Linked DNA regions of Homo sapiens: region 1 is linked to region 2. Evidence: promoter capture Hi-C in 16 types of primary human blood cells and fetal thymus (Javierre and others, 2016). All regions are on one chromosome and are shown on one strand. The core of a region is centred on a gene start or on the middle of the fragment in contact, and the rest is flanking DNA. Distances in the headings are between cores, read along the strand shown. Region 1 overlaps CCNT2 (cyclin T2). Region 2 holds the start of PTPN18 (protein tyrosine phosphatase non-receptor type 18).

Evidence for each region. The method cuts DNA at HindIII sites, captures the fragments that hold promoters and counts their contacts. A CHiCAGO score of 5 or more calls a contact.
Region 1: a contact is called between a fragment that was not itself captured here and the fragment with the promoter of PTPN18 in region 2, in 1 of 17 cell types (neutrophils). The highest score is 9.0, in neutrophils.

The regions. Positions count from the first base shown.
Region 1 is chr2:134,922,835-134,928,307 of GRCh38, forward strand. All of the region lies in intron 2 of CCNT2 (cyclin T2), which reads left to right. Among named protein-coding and RNA genes, the nearest start is that of CCNT2, 6.7 kb to the left of the region's middle. The HindIII fragment of the contact is 4,940 bases long and covers 1-4,353 here.
Region 2 is chr2:130,351,104-130,357,305 of GRCh38, forward strand. It overlaps PTPN18 (protein tyrosine phosphatase non-receptor type 18), which reads left to right and starts at 4,953. Exons shown (of 15, transcript NM_014369.4): 1 at 4,953-5,097. The coding sequence starts at 5,005. RefSeq lists silencers at 4,533-5,202, 5,343-5,392. The HindIII fragment of the contact is 15,291 bases long and covers 3,218-6,202 here.

The DNA.
Region 1 (5,473 bases), core at 634-3,133, 4.6 Mb after region 2:
AGAGCACACCCTTTTCTAAGTATTTTTGTTGGTCATGGTCTGTTCTCATAGCACATCTCCAATTTATTTGATCTTTTCCATCTTCTCTTACTTCCATTGCCTCTTTCTTGAGCTCTAGCAATCAGAACTCCATGTATAATATGCAAGATTTAAAGCTATTGTAGGGCCTGGCATGGTAGCTAATGCCTGTAATCCCGGCACTTTGGGATGCTGAAGTGGGCGGATCCCTTGAGGTCAGGAGTTCAAGACCAGCCTGGCCAATATGATGAAACCCCATCTCTACTAAAAATATAAAAATTAGCTGGGTGTGGTGGCACGTGCCTGTAATCCCAGCTACTGGGGAGGCTGAGGCAGGAGAATCACTTGAACCTGAGAGGTGGAGGTTGCAGTGAGCCGAGATCACATCACTGCACTCCAACCTGGGCAACAGAACGAGACTCTATCTCAAAAAACAATAATAATAATAATAAAAATAAATAAATTTTGCTTTTTCTCCTGTTCATTTCAATTCATTGTTATACTCTGGTCATGTTTTACAGAAGTCAAATCAGCATATGTTTCATTGTGAAGTCTAAGCAGGTGTTTATAGCTTACTTCTCTTTCTGCCTTTTAGTTTAATAAAGCAATAATTAATCCAACAATAATCTTATGCCCAAGATCCATTAGCATTACTTGGAAATACTGCAGTGCTGTCCAGTAGAACTTTCTGCATAGCGCAAGTTTTGTGTATCTGTGCTCTTCAATGTAGTAGGTACTAACCTGTAAATTTGAGACGATTAGCCTAGATGATTTTTAAATTCCTTTTAAACTATAAATTACCTGGTTGAAATTTTATTAAGATCTCACTATGCCAGGCACTTTATATTTGTCTTGTTTTCTCAGGTAAAGTATTCTCCTAAGGAAGCAGACGCAGTTACCAAGTGACTTGTCCGAAATTAAAACTATTACGTGGCTGGGATTTGAACCCAAGTCCTTTGCTTAATCCCAAACTGTAGTTCTCACTTTTTCCTGTTCTAGTATATTTCAGAAGTAGAGCACAGTAGCAATTTATGCCAGTGATTTGTAAGATTTATAAAGTAAACAATGAAAAAACCTCAGATTTTTATTTGCCCGCCTCATTGCACTAAATCCAATGAGGTCCTCTTTATAAGTCCCAAATTCCTCTTTTTCAACTATACATCAGTGTTAGCATTTATGCATTGTGTATCACTGTTTTTCCTTAGGGTGCTTTCTCTTTGCTTTCATGTGACTGTGCTCTGTCAGGTTTTAAGACTCAGCTGAAGTTGCTACTCTTTCATAAAGCATTCCCCAGATAACTCTCTTTTCCATTTGTGAATTTATCTCTCTGATCTTACCTTTGAATCTTATTCACATCCAGTTGTATTCCATCTATTTGGGAGTTTATAGTGCTGTAGTGTAACTGTACATATATGAGATGAGTGTTTTCTTTTTAATTGTAAAATATATAAAACCACCAAACAAATGTATAGTGGATTATTATAAAACAACCTTGTAATCACCAACCAAGTCAAGAAATAGAACTTTGCCAACTACCCCGGAATGTCTCCACGTGCTCAACTCAGTGTCGATCCCCTCCCTCCAAAAGTAACCAGTATTCTTTTTTATTTTTTTGAGATAGGAGTCTGGTCTTGTCGCCCAGGCTGGAGTGCAGTGGTGCAATCTCGGCTCGCTGCAACCTCCGCCTCCTGAGTTCAAGTGAATCTCCTGCCTTAGCCTCCTGGGTAGCTGGGATTACAGGCATGCACCACCATGCCCAGCTAATTTTTGTATTTTTAGTAGAGACGGGTTTTCACCATGTTGGTCTGGCTGGTCTCAAACTCCTGACCTCGTGATTCCCCCCACCTCGACCTCCCAAAGTGCTGGGATTACAGGCGTTAGCCACCTCGCCCGGCCCCAGTATTCTTACTCTAATCACTTTCTTTATAGTTTTAGCACCCAACTCTGCATTCCCAAATACCATAGACCTTGCTCATTATTAAAAATTTGGTAAGTCTTTGAAGTCTCTCAGTATGCATGTTTCCCCTCCATCTTTTTATGTCAACTAAGTTGTAGCTGTTGAAGGACCCTAGAGTGTGTGACCTGTAGAGTTTCCAACTGTCTGAATTTTGCTGATTGTATACTCATGGTGCAGTTTACTGTGTTCCTTTTTTCTTGCATTCCTGGAAAAATTGATGATTAGATCCAGAAACTTAATCAGACTCCTGTTAGATCCCTTAGGCAAGGCTATAGATGGTGTTAATGTTCTTTGGTCAGAAGGTCTAAAGTCTGGTTGTCTCTCTTTGTAGTGTTAGTGGCTGCTGATATTCAATGCCTGGGTCCTTTCATTCATTGGTGATACTCTAATTCTGTCATTTCTTTCTTACAAATTGGTATTTTTGTATTGGAATTCTTGATTCATCTCATATGGACACCCAGTGGCACGTATCATATAGGATAATTACTGGATTTTTGCCCTTTTTGTGATATAATTCACATATTGTACATTTCACCCATTGAAAGTATGATTCCGTGGGGTTTGTGGGTTTTTTTAAGAATATTCACAGAGGTGTGCATCAATTTTTAGAAGTCTTCACTACACCAAAAAGAAACCCCCAACCCCGCAGTCATTTCTCCCTATTTTTCCCCCAGCCTATTAATAGACATTTCATTAATGGAATCCTACAGTATGTTGTCCTTTGTGACTGACTTCTTTCACTTACCGTGTTTTCAAGGCTCATCTATGTTGTTGTATTTATTCAGTAGGTTGTTTACTTTTCTTGCTGTACTACCCATTATTCCACTGTATGGCTAGACCACATTATATATATATGTTCATCAGTTGGTGGGCATTTGGATTGTTAGCCACTTTTTGGCTAATATGAATAGTGCTCTTAAGAACATTTGTGTACAAGTTTTTGTGTAGACTTGTGTTTTTGGTTTCTCTTGGGCTTATACCCAGGAGTAGAATTGCTGGATCATATGGTAACTCTAGATTCCAATAATATTGGAAACTTGGATAGCTGCCTTTTTTTTTTTTTTTTTTTTTTTTGAGACTAGGTCTCCCTCTGACACCCGGGCTGGAGTGCAGTGGCACAATCATGGCTCACTGCAGCATCAACCTCCTGGGTTCAAGTGATTCCCCCACCTTAGCCTCCCAAGTAGCTGGAATTACAGGCACATGCCACCACACAGTTAATTTTTTTAATTTTTTGTAGAGACAGGGGTCTCACCATGTTGCCCAGGCCGTTCTTAAACCCCTGGACTCAAGCAGTCCTCCTGCCTCAGCCTCCCAACACTCAGCCTAAAGCAGCTCTTTCCAGTGTGATTTGTCACTTTAAGCACCACTCTTCTAGTCTTTTCTTACAGTCTTTGTGTGAACTGAATACTCTTCGGTTACTCATTTTTGTGAGATATTAGCTTTCCTGAACTTTAAAAAGGTGATGTACCTTCAGAGTGCTTTAATAATTTCACAGAGCTCCCTTTTCTGTTATTTTGTGTAATGTTCAGAAGTGTAGCAGCTTACTTTCTGGGAGTTTCTGGCCCTCTTCCCCTCCACATTTTTAGTTTCTCTTTTCCCTTCTTCCTATCTTGCTGATTGTGCTTTTCCTCCCAATGGTTTCTCTTCAAACTGGAGTCTTGGAAGAGAACCTTGGAAGATCAATTTCAAAAGTTCGTAGAAGTTAGCTTCGGTCTTTTAATCCTTACTGTAGGTCTCTTGCATCCATCTACTTATTGGACTGGCAAAACTCCCAGTGCTAGCTGCTCTTCTCACATTGGCCTGCCATGATTTCCAGTGAATGTCTTTTGGCTCTTTGAGGTTCTTCTTATATCAAGTCCAGCACATGCCCCATTCCTTTGCATCTTGTTGCACTGTGCTGTGTATGTTGACATAGTAGCCTGTTTTTTCCTCATTCGTATGTGTTAGGAATTCCCTAGGAATGGCTTGTCATGTGATTTGGTTGTAGCTATCCATGGGGTTTTGGTTTTGCTATCTTGTTGCTCTGTTTTTCTGTGGGGATTTAAGTATCCCCTCTGCAGCCATCAACTCAGAATTCTTCAGGTAAATCACTAAAAGTTTACCTTCATTCAGAAGATGATACACTCATTTCCAGTGGGACTTCATCTTTCCAGAAGTATTTATAAGTACATTTAAATGACAGCCTATTGTGGTCCCACTGGAAATGAGTGTAAGATGAAGTTGATTTTTTAAAAAGAATAAATCACTTGAAGTTTCTGTTAAATAAGGAAGCTGTGGGAGAGTTCATTTATTAATAGGCATTACAAAGAATATATGATATTTTTGATTGATTTTCTCAAATTAATTCTGAAAGCTACTCTAGAACTTCCCCAGAAAGCTTTAAATGTTATTTTGAAACATGCTGCTCTTATCTGCCTAATTACAGGGATACTGACTTCAGTGACTCTGTATTATTATAGAAGTCTTATGAAGTATTCCTGAAGCGGCTTAAAATTTTTTTTTGCAAAATTAAATGATTGTGAAATAACTCATACCTTTTCTCTGCACACACAGATACATGTATATTTTAGCCTTGGTAATTTATATGCTTCTCTGTGGTCCTGGCTCATCCTTTTTGTTGAGTCATCGCATGGCAGGAGTGCAAGAGAGTGAACCCAGTCCTGCAAGATCCAAGGCGCTTTCAAACCATAACAAATTCTAAACTTAGGTGTATAGAGTAGAATAGGTTAATATATTAACAAATGTGCATTGAGTGTTTGCATTGGCCAAGGCATGCAAATGTCTCAGTATAAAATCAGACAGATTTTATATAGTTTATAAACTGATTTTCAAGGCCATTGCAGAACAGGAGTTTTGTTTTTAGTATTAATAGCTAAAATTGGTTAAGGTAATTTTTTAAGTGAAAATCCAATTAGATAACTGCATTTTATTATAAACATACATATACATTCTAGGGAGTACATATTTACACATGTTCTAGGGATTAGGGGAAATGATGGAATCTCCTTACCACTCTACATTTTCTGGTGTTAACCTAATATTTTACCCCTAAATAAGCTAAGGCTCTGATTGTTAGTGACATATTACATACTCTTTATATGGCTATACATAAGGAAATACATGTAACGTGAATTTTTCTCTAAATTATTTGGAGCTGATACAGAAAAGAAATGGATGAGAACTGTAGAAGTTCACCTATTTGTTATTAAAAGTTAAAAGTGAAGTTAAGGCTTGTGCTTAGTGACAATATGCAGTTCAAGCAATTCTCCTGCCTCAGCCTCTCAAGTAGCTGGGATTATAGGCATGTGCCACCACACCTGGCTAATTTTAGTAGAGACGGGGTTTCACCATATTGGTGAGGCTAGTCTCGAACTCCTGACCTCAGGTAATCCACCTGCATTGGCCTCCCACAGTGCTGGGATTACAGCATGAGCCACCATGCCCGGCCTCACATTGTATTTCTTTTTTTTTTTTTTTTTTTCTGAGACGGAGTTT
Region 2 (6,202 bases), core at 3,703-6,202:
ATGGAGTCTCGTTCTGTTGCCCAGGCTGGAGTGCAGTGGCGCAATCGCTGCTCACTCCGCCTCCGGGGTTCAAGCGATTCTCCTGCCTCCGCCTCCCAAGTAGCTGGGACTACAGGCGCCCGCCACCATGCCTGGCTAATTTTTTGTATTTTTAGTAGAGATGAGGTTTCACCATGTTAGCCAGGATGGTCTCGATCTCCTGACCTCGTGATCCACCCACCTCGGCTTCCCAAAGTACTAGGATTACAGGCATGAGCCACCACGCCTGGCCTAGTTAGTGTATTTTAACTAGCTACCTTATTAAATTTTCTCATAAGTCCTTACAGTTTTTCATAAGAGTTTCTAAAACTTTGTAGCTGATTATGCTATATGCCAGTTAGCATTTCTGATGGGCCCCTCCCTCCTTTCTCCTTGCCACCCTGCATTGCCTAGGACTTCAGAACACCCTGGTCAGCAGCAGCAGTGAGGGTGCCCCCTCATTATAGGAATCCTTCCAGAGGTGTTTACACTCACCCAAGCATGGATGCACACTCATTTCTCTCTGGTGTTATAATTGATGGGCAGACAGCAATGCACACGGATCCATGCATCCCTTTGGTTGTCCTGGGAACTGCACTCAGCCATGACACATGGGCTGTGCAATCAGGGCCCACAGACACGGCCCTCATCTGTGCAGGACCCTGGCCGGCATTTGCTGACAATAACATGGCCAGTTGGTCTTTTCTAAATAAAGCACCGCATACAGAGGAAGTATGCTGAAGCTGGGCTAGCATCAGGTGTAGAAACTGCAGGCTGAGGAGGCAGCAGCCTGACCCGGCCTGTCAGTCATGGAAGTCCCAGAGTGCTGCCAGCGTTGCTGTTAGAGCACTTGTCTGCCCGAGTTTATTTCCTCCAGGGGCACATCGGGGGCCTGCTCTGGGCCATGCAGATGCCCAGGCTCTGCCCTGGAGTAGTGGGGGAAAAGTTGGTATGAGCATTTTAAAGATGGGGAAGAGGGCTTTCCCCTCTATTCCTAGTGGTTTCCCCTCCTTTCTGAAGCAGAATTGCAGGACAGCTCCCGAGGGCAGCAGGTCAGCCTCCACAAAGAGCTGGGGGTTGTGGGGTTTGGTGGTAGCGCTGAGAAGGGGTAGGGTGGCTTTCTCTTTGGCCTCTTTCTCTTTGGCTTTCTCTTTCCACCGCGCTGAGCTGCTGACCCTTTCCCATGGAGCGATCAGGAGGAGTCTTTGATTCAGAACACTGAAACCTGGCACGCCTGAGGAGAGTTAGAGGAGACAGGAACAAAAGCTCTCCCAGAGGACTTAGAGCTCTCAGGCATCGGACGGGAGGGGGACACAGCCACATGCTTCCTCTTGCACTGAAGAGGGTTGCCTTTTTCCTGTTTGCTAAATGCCAGACTTGTGGATGGACCAACAGGACAACTTGCCCAGCTTGAAGGTTTTTAACAGAATGAAGCAATGGGAAAATGTTTTCAAATTTATGCCCCCCCTTCCACTTTTGTTTTAACTTAGAGGAGGGAGTAAGGAGGTGGGCGTGGCAATATCAGAAAGGGAAACTAGCAGTGTAATAATAATATTAATAGTACCAAGTGTATACTGCAAGCCAAGTGCTGTTCTATCTAAATGCTTTATATACAATGATTTCCTTAAATTCTCACAATAAAGCAACAAGAAGAGACACAGTCCTACAGAGGAGGAAATTGAGACATAGAAATTAAATGACTTGCCCAAGGTCATACTGAGAAAGTCATGGTGCCAGAATTCTAACTCAAACATTTTGGTTCCAGTCTTCTGCCCTTTTTTTATTTTTATTTATTGATTTTTTTTTTTTGAGGCGGAGTCTTGCTCTGTCGCCCAGGCTGGAGTGCAGTGGCACAATCTCGGCTCACTGCAAGCTCCGCCTCCCGGGTTCAAGCCATTCTCCTGCCTCAGCCTCCCGAGCAGCTGGGACTACAGGTGCCCGCCACCACGCCCGGCTAATTTTTTGTACTTTTAATAGAGAACGGGGTTTCACTGTGTTAGCCAGGATGGTCTCTGCCCTTTTTTAACTAAGCAAAAAAGGAAGCTGGAGAAGAACTGTACCCTGGAGATGCCAGCAGTCTCCAAGGAGCTCCCCGCAAGCATCCCAGAGGAAGGGGTGTCTGCCAGGGGTCTCCACTGTAGTTTCTCTTTTCCCCTTTGCAGGCTCAGAGCAGGCTGAACTCACAGCCTTGTGCACCTGTCCCTGTGCATCTTCCTCTACCTTGTCCTCTTGGCTCTGTTGAGCGGCCCATGTAGCCACACTGACTGGTGGGCAGGTGACAGACTGGCACATGGCACGTGGGCTTTGGTACACTTGGGGTCTCTGTAGCAGTGCCAGCAGCTCCCACTGTGCAAGACTGCTGCTGGCAGCGTGAACAGGAGGGCCACCAGCAGCAGTGAGTCTCATTGCAAGAACACAGCTGGCAGTCCTCCGGGAGAGAAAAGCCGGGGTGGGCCAGGGCCTCTGGAAGATGTGGGGTCTTCCCATCCCCCACACCTAGCCTGAGCTGAACAGAGGGCAAGCTAAGAGTTTGGATGTTTGGAGAGACATGAGGAACGGTCAGGTGTCAGGAGGACAGGTGGGTTAAACAACAAGGTGGGGCTTGGAGTGAGGGTGAACACGAGGACAGAAAGACACTCAAGGCAGCTGGAAGTACAAATGGCAGACTACAGCCTCAGCCACTTAATGTTCACAGGCCACAAGGCAGCATCTGGCTAGTCACTCAGATCCTCTAATAGACAAACCACCAAACACACACACACACACACACACACACACACACCCTGGCTGGACAGACTTCCAGATGGACAGAATCCCAGGGAAACACCCAGCTGGACAAACAGACAGATTACTGACAGATGGGTAGACCCTCAGCCAGACATCCAAATAGGCCTGTGGCCAGAGAGACACCTGGGCCCCCCAGCCAGGCAAAGGTCAGAATCCCTCAAGGACAGGTGCCCTCCCCAAAATGGACAGAGACATTACCCCAGAGGAGAGAACACCCCACCCACCTAGTCAACCAGACCTTCAGCTGGACGACATGCCCTCCACCAGTCAGACAGACCTCAGCCTATGAGGACAGGCCCTCAACAGGATCCCTGCTGCTGGACAGAGATCCTCTAGCCCATAAAGACTGCCCTGAATAACCATGTGTGCTCAGGGGCTCACATTTTCCCAGAAAATGTCTTTATTTTCTGAAAGCTTACTGATGCTTCTGTATTCTACCTCCCTGGATCTCCATGGCCATCCACAAACCCTCAATGATTATACTGAGAGTCACTATCATGCACTGAGCAGAGCTCTCAATGACTTCCCAGACTCTTCGGACCCTTCAATTACTAACACTCCAAATCCCAATGGCCCCACAATTACTTTCACTTCTTGTCCCAAGTATCCACTGGCCTCCCAATGACTGTCATTAATATCTACTGACACCCCCCCCCCCATGAACATCCAAGGGACCCCGACTGGCTTCCAATGAATTCCCTATCACCACCATCCTAAACAATTACCTCCCTGAGAATGCTCAAAGATGAAACTGATAAATGATGAACATGAATCTCACAGTGACCCCTGCGGACCCCACGATAAATCAAACAGCCCTAGCTGCTGATCCCCACAGAGCCACTTTGATCGCTCCATCACTTCAGCCAAGGTCAGCAAACGACAGCCTGTAGGCCACACACACACACTAGAATAATTCATGACACATGAACATTACATGAAATTCTGATTTCTTTGTCCATAAATGGTTTCTTTGGGACACAGCCACACTATATTGTCTGCTTTCATGCTGCCACAGCTGAGTTAAGCAGCTGGGGCAGCGATAGCAAAGCCAAAACCACTTCCTACCGGGACCTTTAAGAAAGTGTGCCCTTAAATACTCTGATAGCCCCTAGTGAATTAAATTGACCACCTGACATCATGCCCCTGTTGACCCTTCAGAGACTCAGGCACACATCCAGGCCCCAATGCTACCTTTCAACCCCTCAACGACCTCAAACTGGTGTCCACTGACGCCCCTTCCAGTGACACCCCTCTTAATTCTTCCGACCTCGGCGAGAAGGGGGCTAACCTAGGCCTGTCCTTGAAGAGACCCAGGTGCCAGTCCATTCTCTCCAGCCTCCCCTCGGTGATCCCGGAAGCTGGAACGGCGGCTCTCCTCTGACCTCTGCACACTTTCTGAAGATGGGAGTGTCAGGGCAGGCAAAAAAGAGAAGCTCTTCGTTCCCCAGAACCCACTTCCAGTGCCTCAGTTCTGTTTCCCAGCAGGCTTGTGCAGGTCGAGATGCTCACACAGGACTGACCCTGGTGCCCCAGCGCATCCGGGAAAAAGGAACCACAAATTCCTCGGGAAATACACAGAGAAGATCCCGCTGCCACTTGGCCTTTCCCACGGCGTGGCTGCCCCTCCCCGGCCTCCCTTGGGCCCGGCTGGAGCGCACAGCGCGGGACGCCCCCGACCCGGGGTCCTCTGGCACGAGGGGCAGCCTGATCTCGGCGACCGTCTCCACCCAAGGCTGCTGCCCGCCCCAGCTCGGACTCCGCGCGGCCTGGCTCCCAGGGGACGGGCGGGAGGGCCCGGCGAGACCGCTCGGCCGTCCACCCAGAGCCGGCACCCGGAGGTCGGCCCCTGGGCGCGGATCCCGATCTGAGGGCGGGTCCCAAGCGGCAGGGAGCGAACCTGGGACCGTGCCACCCCCCCACCAGTGGGCGCGGCAGCCGAAAAAAAGGGGAAGCGCCGGCGCTGGACTCTGCTCAGGGCAGCCCGCGAGGACCTAGGGCTCCGGCCACAGCGGCCCGAGCGCCCGGGGTGGGGCTACGCGGGCTCAGAACACGGTGGCTGGGGCGCCCTGCCCGCCGCTGCGCGCTTCCATTGGCTGCCGAGGCAAGGGCGGGGACTCAGTCACCGGCCTCCGCCTCCCGCGGCGTCCACACTCGCCGCGCGCGCGGCGGCCGGGCTGGACCTTGCTGGCCCGCGGCGCCATGAGCCGCAGCCTGGACTCGGCGCGGAGCTTCCTGGAGCGGCTGGAAGCGCGGGGCGGCCGGGAGGGGGCAGTCCTCGCCGGCGAGTTCAGCGTGAGTGGCACACGGGGTCCGCGAGCGGCGCGCCCCGGCCCTGGCCCTGCGTACGCCTGTCCTCCGCGCACGGCGGGCTCTGCCTTTCTGTCTCGGTGTCCCCGGTGTCTCCCCGCCTCGGGGGGTCTCTCCGTGTTTCTCTCCCCAGCACTTCTCTGTCGCTCTTGCTGTCTCCGTCTTCACTCTCTGCCCCCCGGCCCCGGAGCGCGACGTCCACGGCCAGGCCGGGACGGACCGTGCACACCCTCGTTCCCGGTGTCCTCGTCGCGCTCCCGGAACAACCTGGCTGCGGGCGGGACAGGTGGGGCGGGCGCCGCAGGGGAGGGCGGGCGGCCCTGCTGCGCTGGACAGCCCCGGCCCCGCCGCTTCTGGCGACCTGACTGTCCCCTGTGACCACAGGAAGGAAGGGGCTGCAGCAGGGCGAAGAGGAACACGGAGGCTGTGGCGTGGTGAGGGTGTGAACGCCGGGCTCGAATCCGCGTCCGGGCCCGAATCCGCTTCCCGTCCCGAATCCGCGTCCCGGCCATCCGCGTGTGGTCCAGGCGGTCTACCTGGCCCCTCTGACCTCGGCTTCTCCCTTGGTGAAATGGGGACATGAATGACCAAACTGGTCTAAGGATTAAATGATGTGGGTGAAAAGCACTTAGTACATATTGGGCGCACACTTCGTAGGGGCGTTCGTCACTGCCTATAAAGATTCTAAACGTGGGCCAGGTGCGGTGGCTCACACCTGTAATCCCAGCACTTTGGGAGGCCGAGGTGGGAGGATCGCTTGAGCTCAGGAGTTCGAGACCAGCCTGGGCAACACAGCGAAACCCCGTCTCTACTAAAAATACAAAAATCAACTGGGCATGGGCGCATGCCTGTAATCCCAGCTACTAGGGAGCAGAGACAGGGGACTCGCTTGAACCTGGGAGGCAGAGGTTGCAGTGAGCTGAGATGGTTCCACTGCACAGCTGAGATGGTGCCACTGCACTCCAGCCTGGGCCACAGAGTGAGATCCCATCTCAAACAAAACAAAACCAAACAAAAAATCTAAACGTTACAATACAGGTAGTGCAAGCCCAGCATTAGGAAGGCTCACGCAGAATGCTAGGCACTGTAC